Regions from separate parts of the Homo sapiens genome. Here region 2 is linked to region 1. Evidence: promoter capture Hi-C in 16 types of primary human blood cells and fetal thymus (Javierre and others, 2016). All regions are on one chromosome and are shown on one strand. The core of a region is centred on a gene start or on the middle of the fragment in contact, and the rest is flanking DNA. Distances in the headings are between cores, read along the strand shown.

Region 1 (7,780 bases), core at 2,035-4,534:
AAGATGGGCAGTGGAGGTTGCAGTAAGCCGAGATTGTGCCACTGCACTCCAGCCTGGGCGATAGAGCGAGACTCCTGTCTCACTAAAAAAAAAAAAAAAAATCCAACTGGAAATGTGAAGAAGGAGACAGTAGGGGACCAGGATGTGAGTTGCACACAGAGCTCTAGGCTGAGCCTCAGACAGATGGCATTTAAAGCCTTGAGAATGAACGGGAGAACCAAGGAGACAGTATAGCTGAAGAAGACAGGAGGTCTAAGAACTGAAGCAGGGCCTTTTCCACGGTGGAAATTTGGGAGGGAAGGAAGAGCCAGTAAAGGAGACAGAGGAGGAGCAGGCTATGAGTTAGGAGGAAAACCAGGAAGACCTAGTACCAAGAGCAACTGTGTGAAAGGATATATTAAGAAGGAGGATGTAAACAATTACATCAAATGTTGCTGAGAACTGATTGTGGCCTTTAGTCAAGGAGACCATTGGTAACCCTGACAAGAATATTTTTTGGTGTCACTTGAAAAAGCCTTACTAAAATATTCGAAACATAACAGAAGGATAGCAACGCAGACAACAAACATAGATAATTCTTTCAAGGAGTTCAGCTCTAAATGGGAGGAAAGACAAGGCAAGAAGGTGAAGAAGAGACAGGAAGCTAGGGCAGTGCAGAAATGGAGACAAAGGGAAAGAAAAGGAATCGAGAAGAATGCACAGGTGGAATAGGAGGATACAACTTTTGTTTTGTTTTGAGGTGGAGTCTTGCTCTGTTGCCCAGGCGACAGATTCTCCTGCCTCAGCCTCCTGAATAGCTGGGATTATTGGTGTGTGCCACCACGCCTGGCTAATTTTTGTATTTTTAGTAGAGATGGGGTTTCACCATGTTGGCCAGGCTGGTCTCGAACTCCTGACCTCAGGTGATCTGCCCGCTCTGGCCCCCCAAAGTGCTGATTACAGGTGTGAGCCACTGTGCCCGGCCAGGAGGACACAACTTCTAATGGGAAGTAAGTTTGGAAACAAGGATGCAAGGAAAACTCAGAGGTCCAGCTTATATCAAGTTATAAGGCTGTCAACACAGATCAGCAAGATCAGAAGAAATAGGAGGAGAAATGAGGCAGAGATAGGGAAAACTGGGATGCTGTTTCCAGATACTTTTCCCTCTCCTGCCTCTGACCAGGGCTGTTCTGACTGGTGGAAAAAAAAGATTTTTTTTTTAACAATGGGGGAAAACAATATGGGCTAGATATTAAATGATATTAATAAGTTATTAATTTTGTTGGGTATAACAAAATATAATTGTAACAATGTAACTGTATAACAATGAAATTGTGGTTATGTTAAAAAAAGAAGTCCTTATGTGTTAGAGATGCCTCCTGAAGTGTTCCCAGGTGAAATGATATAACTGGGATTTGCTGCCAAAACTCTAGCAGGGAAAAGAGTAAGTGAGAGTATTGGAAGACAGAAGAACAGAATGTTAACAACTTCACAGGACCTGACAAGCCCTGGGAATGAGCAGTCTGAACAAATACTGAAAGAAGGAATGTAGGGGAAGAATATAGGTGTAATGAATGAGAGCATCAGCTCTGAAAAATATTCCCTGTGAAAATGATCACTCTTAAAACAAGCCTAGTTTCCTGAAGGAACCAGCTGGGGCCCTGATCCCTGGATGGGACATTGTAGAACACAGACGTCAAAGCTGAGCAAAAGAAACCCACTCATGGTTCGAAATGCAAAAGGTAAGTGGCACCCACCTGAAGCTGGGCTGTCAGGAGCTCAGGAGTACCCCCTTTCCCCAGCAGGCAGTCCTCTCTGGGCAGACAGGAGCCACAGGGAGGCAGAACAAGAACAAAAAGCGTTCAAGAAAATCAAGGGAAATCCTCTCCAGCAGGGCAGTACCTCCTATTCCTTAACAGCATCAGGAATGAACCTGCCACAGAAGAAAAGGAGAAAAGAACTGCGGGCAGCTTCCTGGGAACACAGCTGGGGTACAGGTTGAAAGCACGACCTGCCCTGATATGCTGTTGACGCTGAGCATGAAGCGACCTTCTCTGTGCCTGTTATTAATGAAAGGTAATATTCACTGAACACTTAGTATACACCAGAGACTGTTACAGCCACTGTAGGAGTTTCACCTCATTCTATCCTTTCAACAACCCAATACGATAGATGCTATTATCCTCTTTAGGATAAAATCGAGGAAACTGAGGTACAGTGAAGTCAGCATCTTGCCCAAGGTGACACAGCTATAAAGTGACAGAGCCTAGAGGAAATGTGGCTGTGGAGACCGTGCTCTTACACAGTAAGGGCAGTGACGGTGAACTCTGGATTGCAAGGATTCTCTGTGTCCATTCTGAGATGAATCAAGATTGGTCATAAGGTTTTAAGTGTTGAATCTGGGTGATGGAGATCTGGTCTATAGAGTTCTATCTACTTCTGGCTGTTTGAAATTTCTCCGCAATAAAAACTTAAATGGAATGTAAAATCCCAAAGCCTGGCCACACCAGGGGCCTGGGAATCCGTAATTCTTGCGATCAATGACGGTCCCTGGGACCTTTGGAAAAAACCTGTCCTGTGCGTCCCAGCCAGACTTCCTCCTCCAACGCCCGAACCCGGGGGTGACCAACCAAAGTGAAACCCTAAGATCGCGGCAAAATGGCCACCCCAGATCCAGTCTAACCTTGGCTTGTTTGGTCAAGCCAGACCGCTCCTCATTCCACTCCAGCAAAGCCGAAGAATAGTGTGGCCCCAAGAGACTAGCCCTCAACCGACCAATGCCTCGGGGACACATGGCCCCAGGGATGGTTCCCATTCCACCACCTGGGAAATACCATTCCCCCAAAAAGCTTATTTATTCAACTCCCCCAAAACCGGGGACTTATGGCATCAGCGACTCCCTTTCCCAATACCCGACTTCAGCCAAAGCCGAACCTGTCCCCACCCACAAGAACCCTAGGAGAGAGAGCCCGATCCCCCACTCATCACCATCCAGTTTCACGGATGGGCTTCACCCAACTCCCCTGGAGATGCACGCCCACACCCCCAAAATAAGACATCTGGGAGAGGACGGCCTGCGCCACGCCAGCGCGTTCCCACCACAATCACCACCCCCGCGCCACCCGCACGGTCCCCAAATTCAGCCCATAGTCCAGCCTTTCGGGACCTTCCTTTTCGCGCAGAAAAGGGTACGGCTGCGGCAAGGGTCCCGCGGGAGCCTCACTCACCAGCGCCACCAAAGAACAAGGGGTCGCTCCAGCCACCAGCTGGGGAGCTCCTCCAGCGGGGCGCCAGGACTACACTACCCCGAATCCTCGGCACAGCGCCCGGACCACACCTCCCAGGATGCTCGGCGCCACCAGGCGCGCCCTGAAGGCCGGCAGCTCCCATTGGCCTCTGACGGATCCGTTTCTGAGTAACACGCTCCGGTCACCGGAGAATGGCCACTGTGGCACCTGAATTCTCCCTCTTTTTTCTTAACCACGTGCATAAAACACGTAGGAGCTCCCGAGAAGAGTGCCTGGCCCTACTGTGACCCTCCTTCTGAGCGCCTCTGTCTCGAAAACTACACTTCCCAGTGACCCCTGGAGCGACTTCCGCACCCGGTACCGGCCCCGCCCCTTGGCGCGCGGAAATGACGTTTCGGGGCGCATCTGTTCGGCTTCTGGGGTTGGCGGAGGTGTACCGCTGGCTGACCAAGCTTGTTCAGGTGCTGGTTTGTGTTGCAGCGGCCTGTGGTCTCCCTGGCTCCAGCCGCCTGCTTGGAAAGTCACGCCCCATATTCCTAAACACCGGGCGAACGTCATGTCGTATACCCTTTAGCTCCATTTAAAGCCTTGAAAAGGCCGAGCAGTCTGCCTGAAGTCTCACATCCCGTACGAGGTAGACCCGATTCTGAGCCCACGCCCTCAACCCGAATACACCTTTTCCGGTGCCCTGAGACCTTTTTCTTCTTTTTGAAATCCACGAAGTTATTGTTAAACTCTCATCTCCTGAGAAGCAGAAGCCTCAGTCTCGGGCCAGAGCTTGGCCTGCCGTCGGCTTGGATCTCTAGGTCTTTGTCCGGGATCCTGGTTGAGAACAAGATTGCGCTGGTGCCATCTGGGACGCCCCATCTGGGGAGCTCGAGGGGAAGGCCCACGTCACTCTTGAGAGGGCTTTTCCACCCGTGCACCCTCTCACTGCCCTTCACCTTCCTCAGATAGGCTTTCTGAAACTTTGTCATTCTCTTGGAAGACCAAGAAAATGACCACTGTCTGAAGGGCCAGGGAGATGAGAATTTCCTAAAATTCTTTTGTAGCTCTCAGAGGGTGAATCCATTCCCTTCTGGTACCCCGAGGCTACATTATTTATTGTGAATTCAGTTCAGTCCTGGCTCCGGAGACATGTCCAGTGTCAATTGGATTCATCCCTCAACATCATTCTCTGCCTCATGAGTCAGTCATCACCAAGAAATTAGTTGTTAATACACATAAAGGTTCAGAACAACAATGCAGGGATGCCTGTGTTCAAGTGTTCACTTGTGCTGGCTGTACAATAAAGACACAGATGGCTGACATCTCTTAAGCCTGGAAATGAAGACTTACAGGATGAGGTGCTGCCTGAGGAATTAGGCAAGATGAGGAGTTGGAAGAACACAGACGAGTAAGGAAGAGTGTAGGAAGTGTGAACAGAATCTCAGGGTCTGAGCCACTGGGTGGACTGTCATGACCACAGTGAGATTTTCAGCAGCACGTGGTCTTGCAGCCAGCTGACTTGCATATAGACAGGGATGCTAGATGTCCACCGTCTAGATGTACAGCTCTGTCATACAGATATTTGGTGTGTCCAGCCTCCAGTTTCATCTTTGACAGACCTCAGCATTTAATAATTAGGAGTTTCCATCTAGAAATCTGGATTGCCTGCTTTCTAAAACACTCTTTGCTGCCATGTCCTCTTTTTCTCCTGGCATTTCCCACCCACTCCATGCCATACCTCATCTGGAATACCCTTAGCTCCTCTGAATCCATCTGGTCCTTCAAGACCAAATACCTAGCTCTCTTTCGTGAAACCTTCCCTGATCACTATACTATAGTGACTACTTGAGACTCTTCTAACCCTGGCTGTACTTGGAAGCTTTTAAAAATACAATGCCTGAACACCACCCCAAGAAATGAGTTTGCAGTGGAGCCTGGGCATCCATTATTCATAACAGAGCTGTTTTCCTCTTGAGAAGGGAAGATGTTGTGTAATAATGTAGAAGAGAGATCTTGTTTTGGAAAATCAGAAGTTTAGTTATTGGTTGTTGCTATTTCTGAACCATATACCTCGGTAGATCATTTAACCCAGCGCTCTCAAAAACATGCATACATGTCACTTGGGATCTTGTAAGCAGCAAATTCTGAATCAGAATGCCTGATGGAGCCCAAGCATCAGCATTTCTAATAAGCTTCCAGATGATGCTGGTACTGCTTGTCTTCAGACCAGACTGGGTAACAAGGCTTTAAACCAATCAGGGGCTCAGATCTTTAAATTGAATATAAGCAGCTAGATTAAAGAATCTCCAAATTCCTAAATCTCAGAAAGACCATGATTCTATACTTATATTTTCTTTTAATATGTTATCTATTAAATGTAAAACACCTCAAGGTTAGGAATTGTGTTTTCATTTGTAAAGCCCATAATAGCCAGACTAGGATCACAGCAAGTGATGCTGGTTGGATAGTGAATAGGGTTAATGGTCTTGGAATCCAAGCTCCAGAGTTACAGTCAAAAGCAGGACCTAGATATTTTACCTATCTTCCCCAAGGCAGCCCTCTTGCTCCCTTGTTTTCAACATGGGCACACATGTCAACAGAGTGAGCGGAGCTGTGTTTGGCATAATGGTTTTTCATAATATTCAAGGTTGTGGCTGTGGATTTCATCTAAGAGGTATGAAGCCTGTGGAGTCCTGCTCAGAAGGACCTATACTGGGAGATGGTGCTGGAAAACTATAGCAATCTGGTCTCACTGGGTGATAATGGCTTCTCTTCCAGCTTAAAATCTGACCCACTGAGCAGCTTAAATCCCTCATGCAGGTAAGGCAGTGCATGGAGCAGCTGCCAGATATAGCTGACTTTTGCCTTTTGAACTTGAAAATAAAGACAGGTTATTCATATTTCCCCAGGGAAGGTCAGGTTTTTTTGTTTGTTTGTTTGTTTTGGTATAGTTGAGAATGGGTAGATAGGGGTGTGTGTGTGTGCACGCACACACACCGCTCTTGAGAATTTGCTTTGTCTTTGGTTTTCAGCAGTTTGACATTCATGTGTCTAAATCATTTGTTGTTGTTTGGTATTAATCCAGTTTGAGGTTTATTGAGATTCTCTAACCTGTCAGCTATTGTTTTTCATTAAATTTAGGAACTTTAGCCATCATTATCTTTAAATAATTCTCAGTTTCTTCTCATTTTGGATAATTCTTTCTCAATTTCTTCTCCTTTTGAGTCTCCACTTACACGTATGTTAGACCATTTGATATTGTTCCCGAAGCTCTATCCAATTTTCCTCAGTATGTTTTTCTGTTTGCCAGATTGGTTTCTATTGACCTGTCTTCAGGTTCACTGAAACTTCCTTTTGCCATCTTCAATCTTTTAAGCCCATCTAGCAAATTTTAAATTTTTATTTGTTACATTTTTAGTTCTAGAATTCCCACTTGTTTCTTTTTAAAATAATTTCCACTGAGATTTCCACCCCCATTTGTTTCTTTGTGATGTGTGTATTTTTCTTTAATATGTTTATGCTAGTTTCTGTAAAGTCTGTGTGCTGAAACCTCTGGACCATCTCAGGATCTATTTCTGTGACTGCCTTTTTTTCTTAACAGTGGGTCACACTTCCTGTTTTTTTGCATGTCTAGTAATTTTAAAGTTTTTTTATGCAGGACATTTTTTGTGGCATGATTCTAAATTCTCTTACGTTAGTCTGAAAGTGCTTTTTTTACCTGTAGGCAGTTTAATTACTGGATGAATGTTTTGAACTTGTGCAGGCTTCATTTTATTCTTTGTTAGGATAGATCTTTGAAAGGTCAAAGTGTTTACCAGGCTCCTCTAACTTGCAGGACTCAAACTCCAAGTTCTTTAACCCATGCAGATATTTTTACGTCCTTAATTTAGTTCCAGTTAGAGCATATCTTGAGAAGACCTTACTATAAGATGTGGTCCTTATTTTATGGCATGGCCTCTCTGGTTTCTCAGCTGAATGATTGAGGTGTTAATGAGGTTTGTTTATTCTGATTGGGCTGGAATGCCTACACTCGCCAGCCCTGCTAAACTTCTAGTATTTCCATTCTTCTCTCAAGCAGCTGTTTTCTGGTAATCATTGCATATTTACCCTGCACAAGCAAAGCTCAACTTCAGCTGAGGTGGGCTTTCCCCTCTTTGCACAGCTGCCTCCTTTCTGAGACCTACCCTACCAGTGTCATCTGCTTCACCATCCCTAAAGTCTTTTTTGCCTCCTCATCTCAGTGAGACTAGTGTGTCTTTCCCCCACCATCCCATATCATGGTCAGGAAATTGTCCCCAAGCAGTTAGCCAGGGCAAACGTAGAACTCATTTTCTGAATTTCCCATCTCTCAGGGATCACAATTTTGTGCAACCTATAGTCCAGGGCCTGAAAATAGTTGCTTTATACTTTCCCCAGTGTTATGGTTATTTATAATGGGAATGATCATCTGATACCAGTTATTCCATCATGGTCAGCAGAACACGTTAATTTGATAACTACTGTAAGTCACAAAATTTATATTTATTTCTCTGGCTATCCTAGATCTAGGACAAATCCTCACATAG
Region 2 (7,780 bases), core at 3,442-5,941, 2.8 Mb before region 1:
CATTAGACTCTTTTAGATTCAATTATTGACTTTCACCACAATGCAGAAAAAACACTGTACACACATAGGAAAACATTCAGACGATAAAATTACATCTACGTGTAACTACAGCTAACATGACTTGGGCTGGAAATATGCTGGTTATTTGACCAGCTAACATTGCAATGACCACCTCTAAAAGGGCTGAGAAAGAGGGAGTTTTTTTTTGTCTCCCACTTCCCAGAAGTTTCTGGATTGATAAAGCAGCTGTGACTACCCAGGGTTGCTCCCTATGAAATGACTCAGGAATTTTAGGAGACAGTGGTATCTGTGATCAGTGGGATGCTTTGTGTTTCTTTGTTTAAAAAGGTACAACCAAGGCCGGGTGCAGTGGCTCACACCTGTAATCCCAACACTTTGGAAGGCAGAGGCAGGCAGATCACCTGAGGTCAGGGGTTCGAGATCAGCCTGGCCAACATGGTGAAACCCCATCTCCACTAAAAATACAAAAATTAGCTGGGGTTGGTGGTGGGCGCCTGTAATCCCAGCTACTAGGGAGGCTGAGGCAGGACAATCGCTTGAACCTGGGAGGTGGGGGTTGCAGTGAGCTGAGATCATGCCATTGCACTCCAGCCTGGGTGACAGAGTGAGACTATGTTTCAAACAAATAAACAAACAAACAAAAAGGTACATCCAAACACTCAAATTGGATACAGACAATAATATTCTTTACACATTGCTTTGCAAAACTACAGCTTTCAGCTTTTTTTTCTTTTTTTACTTTAAGGCCCATTATTCTAGCAAAGAGAGAAAGAAAAAAATCTGTGGCCTTACTTTGCATATTAGTCAAGCCCCCTCATTCCTGGTAAAGAACCAAGGTTCAGAGAGGTGGAACAACCTGCTCAAGGTCACACAATTGTTCGTGGACTAGAATCCAGGTTTTGATATTTCTACTGCAGCCTTTTCTGTATCTAGAATTATTTGCCTCTATAACTGTGTCCAGTGTGCATTAATTTGAGTTAGTTATAAATTCTTAAAATGAAAAATGAACACACACAGCAACAGATTTGTACTGACTTAAAAATAAAACAAATCTCGAAATGCAGAACCGTGAACAGGCTATAAAATTTGATTCACATTCCTTATATATTTTCAACAGCCTCACCTTGTTTAATAATTAAATAAGTGTTAATCATAAAGTACATAATTATTATACAGTTATTGTGCCATAAGGACTATAAACAGCCAGGTGTTCCTAGCACAGGAAACAAAAATAACTTACAATTAATAGTTCAAAAAGAATGCCATTTATGAGTGCTGTAAGAATGCCAAGAGTCACAAAAGTTAGGGAATGGGTTGAAACAGGGAAGGCTCTACAGGAAGAGATTTCTTTTTAAAGTCAGAAATTAAGAGGTCACTGATATGGGTGAGCGGTGACATGTCAGAAAGAAAATAGGACGTAGAAAAGGAGTACAAGGTAAAAAAAATGCTAACGACAATTAAGGAAGCCTGTTGTAGATGCTCTATAAATATCTGACAAGAATTAAATCTAGCGTAAGATAAATGTAATTCCTTTTCAAAATCGCTCACTTCTGCCTTTATTTTCCATGTAATTATTGTTATCATTTTAGCACTGTCACGCACACAGCTCTCCTGTTCACTAGAATGATTTTGTAACTTTTAACACTCATTAAATGTTTTGTTTATCAAGAGATCCAAAAATGTATTTCCTTTCTTGTCAACTAATGAGAGTTACAACTCCAATTAACTTAGCAGCTAAATAAGAGGTCCAGCAATTTATCTTTTACGTGGTTATTCATAGTACATTGCGGTATAATTTTCTCTCTATATGCACTCTTAGATCTAGCTGTTTTCAGTGGTTCCCATCTTTCATATCTTAATCAAAGGCATCATGAACCCTCTGGAAGCTGGACTTCTCTAGCTGGAAATTTCATCCCTTCGCTGGAAATCTAGCCAGCCCTCGCTACCCCTAAAAGTCTCCTGAGTTTAAACGGGGGCACATGTTTGACACACACACACACAACCGTCTGCGTTCCAGGACTTGTCATCATTGATGCAGTGCAGCTGTCACGGCGGGATGGCAATTTGAAGAGAGTGGGGAGGGGGCGTGTAAAAGGGGACAAGAGAAACTCACAAGGCTTGATGGAGAGTGACAGGCAGAAGAACTCCCACCTTCACTTCTGGGCAAATTCTGTGACGCGGCCGCATCCTCAAACCGTAGACCAGGCTTTAGCTGCTATTGACGGGGCGGGGGCGGTCTCTCACCTCTCTCCGCTCCCACCCCCAATACAGGGGGTGGCTCTAGTAAACACTGTCCTCCAGGCCCCACTGGGAGCCTGGGGGGCGTTGCGCGCGGGCCTGGGCCCCGGGGAACCTCGGACGGGGGAGCGGGAAGGAAAATGGGGCAGGGCACGCGGAAGACCCCCGGCGCGGGCCGACTCCCCACCCCCGCCCCAGTGCCCTTACCTGTCCCGCAGCCCGTGCTGGAGTTGGCCCAGCCTCTCGTAGTAGTCGGGACTCGACAGGGGCACGGCCGATGCGAGGGTCCGGCTCATGCTGCTGCCGCTGCGCCAGCTCAGCACAGCCTCTGGGTGGCCGTTCGGCCGGGGTTGCCGAAGGAGACCGCCCCACCATGCACCGCGGGTAAACACCGCGCCGGGCCGCCTGCAGGAGGCGGGGCAAGACGCCGTGGGGGCGGGGCGCCGCTGAGGGACGGGGCGGAAGCCGGCTTTGTGGGGGGCGGGACGAAGACCTGCATGGGGCGGGGAAGAGGCGTGGCAGAGGCGGGGCGTCGTGAGGCCGGGGCGGACCACGTCGGAGGGGCGGGCGCTCGGTGCCCTCTCCTCTCTCCCTTGACGCGGTGTCTCCTTTCCCCTCACCTTCCAGGATTCGCACAAGCTACGTTAATGTTACAAGGCGCATTCCCTCCCTTTCTTTCGTCTCTCGCTTGCTTCTTTTCCTCGATCTCCTTTCTTGCCAGGATTTGTTGAGTGCCAGGCACTGTACTAAGCTTGTTCTATTATATCAGCACTCAAAAGCGACACAAAACACCAAGTAAAAAAAGACAAACCCTCAAATGCTAAACAGCCGTGCTCAGCCCCGACAGTGGACCAACCCCTTACTCGAAAATCCGTGCTGAATCTAAGGATTGTTCCAGGTGCCAGTATCGTTGGCGAGAGGGAAAAGTTGATAACTAGTTGCTTGGGAAGCAGACGTTTGTGCAGACAGCTCTAAGGGACAATGCTCCTAATGTCCTGTAGGATCCTCTAGCAGGAGCCCGGGAGCCAGACTGCCTGGGTGTACATTCCCTATCCACGTCCCAGCTGCCAAGCCGTGTGCAAGTCACCCCAGGTTTCCTCATATGTAAAGTGGGAGGCTGTTAACACAGGATTAGTTTAGGATTCGATTGTTAATATGTGTTAGTGTTTATAAGTGGGCCCAGCACATAGAAAGCATCAGGTTTTATTATCATCACCAACGTCGGGAAAAAGCTTCCTGAAGGAAGCCAACCATATTTCAAAACCCACTGGGCAGAAAAATTAAGCCTTAGCCTGCTTCTCTGCCTTCCTTTCCTTTTTTTTTTTTTTTTTTTTGAGACAGAGTCTCACTCTGTTGCCCAGGCTGGAGTGCAGTGGCGTGATCTCGGCTCACTGCAAGCTCTGCCTCCCGGGTTCAAAAGATTCTCGTGCCTCAGCCTCCTGAATAACTGGGATTACAGGTGTGCGCTACCACACCCAGATAATTTTTGTTTTTTTTGGTATTTTTTATATTTTAAGGAGAGACGGGGTTTCACCATGTTGGCCAGGCTGGTCTTGAACTCCCAACCTCAGGTGATCCACCCACCTTGGCCTCCCAAAGTGTTAGGATTACTTGCATGAGCCACCATGCCCGGCCTGTAGAGTTTCTTTAGTCTCTTATTGTTCACTTCTTTTGGTTTCTTTCCTATGCCATTAATTTTACTTACACATACAAGGTGCAAGGTGTGACAAACTAAAATTGTAAGAGAGATGGAACACTCAAAGGCCAACAACACAAAACTATGATTTTACTCAGCCTTCCATTCACATTTGCCAGTTCCAGGGCAAGAGTGTGAATGGAGGCCCTCATACCATCCGCCTAAATATTGAATTATAATTCAAGATAACAAACTTAGGTAAAATACGTGTTCTCCTCTCCACTTTGACCAATATGCCTTCTTAAGAACCTGGACAACCAGGGTGGAATTTAGTTTGCCTGCTTCTCCAGCTCCCCCCAACTCCATTTCCCACCCCAGGCTCAGTCTTGCTTTGTGAGGGGGTCTCATACACTAGCAGGGATGTGTGTGCCCTGCCTCTTCTCCTCCTCTTCTCCAGCCAGCAAGTCCCAACTCTGCCTACATCCCCACCTCAGCCTCCTCTTGGCCGGGCAGTGAGCATGCCAGTGATGGTCACCCTTGCAGGAAAGACCCAGCCAAGAGGCCTTTTAAAGCCTTAGAAAGCAGCTTGGGCCCCTTTGAGCAGGGAAGGTAAGGGTGTTGGGTACTTAGAACGTGTTCTAGAAGAGCATGTGTGTGTATGTGTGTGAGCACCCCAGGTGGGCCTGTCATCTGGCCCTGGGACCTCCTTGCCTTGCGTGGAGCAGCATGGGCAGAGAAGGGCTAGAACAGAACCTCTAATACACAGAAGCCAGGGCAGAGGCCTTCTTGCCCTGGTCCAAGGGTAGCACTGATGTGACTTTTATTTAGTTTTTATTCAGATTATATCCAATTGATTCAGTGGTAATGTGCAAAGGTTTATTTTAATGAGTTTAGTGTAACTAACATTTTACTACAACCCTGGCAAAGAAAAGAAAAGCATTAAATTTTTAGGATATTTTATTTAGGACCATGCCCCCAGGGTTAGTTTTTTTTTTTAAGAAAAAGAATCCCCAAACAATTAATATAACTAATTTTAGCAAGTAGCACAGAGTAAGCAGATGAGGCAGTCATTTAGCACCCAAAATTTTTATTAGGCCATTTTAGGAGAATCTAAAATTAAATGTAATTAAACAGTAAATAGATAATTCAAAATAATTATAATTTACATCCTATGGTTGATTCATTAATGACGTATGACAAATCTAGATGTAGGATCTCCTTTATTAACAATAACACATAGCAAACAAAAGGAATATTTCTAGAGTATTTATGCTAAAATTATGCATTTTAAATGGTGACAGGCTTTCAATAAATTCTGAGTTCTTCACTTTGAATATTTAATTTGCCAGAGCCCTCTATTTTAATATTTTTCTTCAAACTCTTTATTTAGCTGAGCTGATTTCTGTAAGCAGCCCTGCTTTTAGCTCACTGGACCAAGGGTCATCAAGTCTGCCTAGATCAAGGCTTCCTCTAAGTCCTAGAATGTCTTAGCTAGAACTTAGAGGGAGTCTAGCCCCACCCCCTTGTTTTACAGGGGAAAAAGGGTTCAGGGCAGATAAGGGGCTTGGCCAAAGTCACCTAGCTGGAAATCTATGTAATATTAACGAGTCTAGTTCAAAATATGGATCCCTAGTGGTCCCATTAAGCAAACAGCAAGGGAAGCCAGTGTCTCGGCCCAGAAGTCACATGAATCTTTGGGTGAACCAAATGAAATTGTTGTTTTTGTAGCTCAAAAACAAAATTGATTCTGGAAAATATATTGAAATTAGAATTGTACATATATTCTAATATTGGGAAATTCTAATTTCAACATATTTCCATATATATGTATATATACATTACATTTACCAGTTTATTATAAGAATATCACAAAAGATACAGATGAAAAGATTCATAAGGTGAGGTCTGGGGGAAGGGGTGTAGAGGTTCCATGCCCTCCACGGGCACACCACCCTCCAGGAACCTCCTCCACATGTTCAGCCAGCTCAGAAGCTTCCTGAACCCTGTCCCCTTGGGTCTTTTATGGGGACTTTATTGGATAGGCATGATCGACAGTCGTGTAGAAGCGTGATTGGACAAAGGGGACATGATCTAACACTAATTGAGTGGGAAACCCAACAAGTCCTGTTCTGATTCATCTCGGCCTCTCAATGCAGCAGAAATTTTTTTTTTTTTTGAGACGGAATTTCACTCTTGTTGCCCAGGCTGGAGTGCAATAGCATGATCTCAGCTCACCGCAACCACTGCCTCCCTGGTTCAAGCGATTCTACTGCCTCAGCCTCCTGAGTAGCTGGGATTACAGGCATATGCCACCACGCCTGGCTAATTTTGTATTTTTAGTAGAGACAGGGTTTCTCCATGTTGGTCAGGCTGGTCTCGAACTCCCAACCTCAGGTGATCCACCTGCCTTGGCCTCCCAAAGTGCTGGAATTACAGGCGTGAGCCACTGTGTCTGGCCTGCAGTAGCATTTTATATTTTAAAATGTACACACTATGCTGCTTTTAATTAAATCATGTATATTTAGTCAATAACTGCTTGGATATTATATTAATTTGCTAGGGCTGCTGTAAGAAAGCTCCACAAACTAGGTGTCTTAAACAACATGATTTATTGTGTTTCAGGTCTGGAGGCTAGAAATTGAAGATCAAGATATCTGCATGGCTCGTTCTTTCTGAGGGCTGTGGGGAAGAATCTGCCGCATGCCTCTCTCCTGGCTGCTGGTGGTTTGCAGGCTATCTTTGGTGTTCCTTGGCTTCTAGACACATCATCTTGACCTCTGCTTTCATGTTCACATGGTGTTCTACCTGTGTATGTGTCTCCAAATTCTGCCTTTTTATGAAGGCACCAATCATATTGGATTAGACGCCCACCCTTCCCCAGTATGATCTCATCTTAACTAATTACATCTGCATTGACCCTGTTTCCAAAGAAGACTGCATTTTGAGGTACTGAGAGTTAGAACGTCAACATATGTATTGTGCAGGGGACACATTTCAATCCATGATAGATATGAAAGTAGGACAAGATTTCATTTTGCAGTCATTATGCAGACATATCCAATCTGGTAGCCATTAGCCATGGCTATTGGGCAATTGAATATGGCTAGTGCAACTGAGAAATTGAATTTTTAATTTAATTTTTATTTATTTATTTATTTTGAGATGGAGTCTCACTCTGTTGCCAAGGCTGGAGTGCAGTTGTGCAATCTCAGCTCACTGCAACCTCTGCCTCCTGGGTTCAAGCAATTCTCCTGCCTCAGCACCCTCTAACAACTGGGATTACAGGCACACACTACCACACCTGGCTAATTTTTGTATTTTTAGTAGAGACAGGGTTTTGCCATGTTGACCAGGCTGGTCTCGAACTCCTGACCTTAGGTGATCCACCCTCCTCAGCCTCCCAAAGTCCTGGGATTACAGGTGTGAGCCACTGGGCCCAGCCAAATTTAATTTTATTTTAATAATTAAAATTAAAATTTAAGAGGCTACATGTAGCTAGTAGCCACTTTGTTGAACCATGCAGATCTAAAGATGAAGTAGAAAGATGGATAAACATGGAACAGGGAGAGGGAGGACATAAATCACTGGGAAGTGGAAAGATAAGAATAGAAGGTAAGATGCCATCCTTGCTGGGAGGTTGATATGGTTTTGTTCTGTGTCCCCACCCAAATCTTGAATTGTAATACCCCTGTGTCGAGGAAAGGACCTGGTGGGAGGTAATTGCTGTTCTTGTGGTAGTGAGGAAGTTCTTATGAGACCTGGTTGTTTGGTAAGTGTCTGCCAGTTTCCACTGAGAGCTTGCTCTCTCTCTGTCTCTCTCTCTCTGTCTCTCTCTCTCGCCTGCTGCCATGTAAGACATGCCTTGCTTCCCCTTCCGCTATGATT

The links. Contacts are between HindIII fragments. The CHiCAGO score rates a contact against its expected background, and 5 or more counts as called.
Region 2: a fragment that was not itself captured here is called in contact with the fragment with the promoter of ZNF133 in region 1 in 1 of 17 cell types (fetal thymus); the score reaches 7.8 in fetal thymus.

What each region holds. Positions count from the first base shown.
Region 1 is chr20:18,284,031-18,291,810 of GRCh38, reverse strand. ZNF133 (zinc finger protein 133) reads right to left here and starts at 3,284. Exons shown (of 7, transcript NM_001352452.2): 1 at 3,207-3,284. RefSeq lists enhancers at 2,552-2,671, 3,232-3,571, 2,677-3,582, 3,662-3,711. The HindIII fragment of the contact is 851 bases long and covers 2,831-3,681 here.
Region 2 is chr20:21,120,891-21,128,670 of GRCh38, reverse strand. KIZ (kizuna centrosomal protein) reads right to left here and starts at 2,589. Exons shown (of 13, transcript NM_018474.6): 1 at 2,467-2,589. The coding sequence starts at 2,555. RefSeq lists enhancers at 2,071-2,120, 3,021-3,120 and a silencer at 2,281-2,860. The HindIII fragment of the contact is 2,396 bases long and covers 3,494-5,889 here.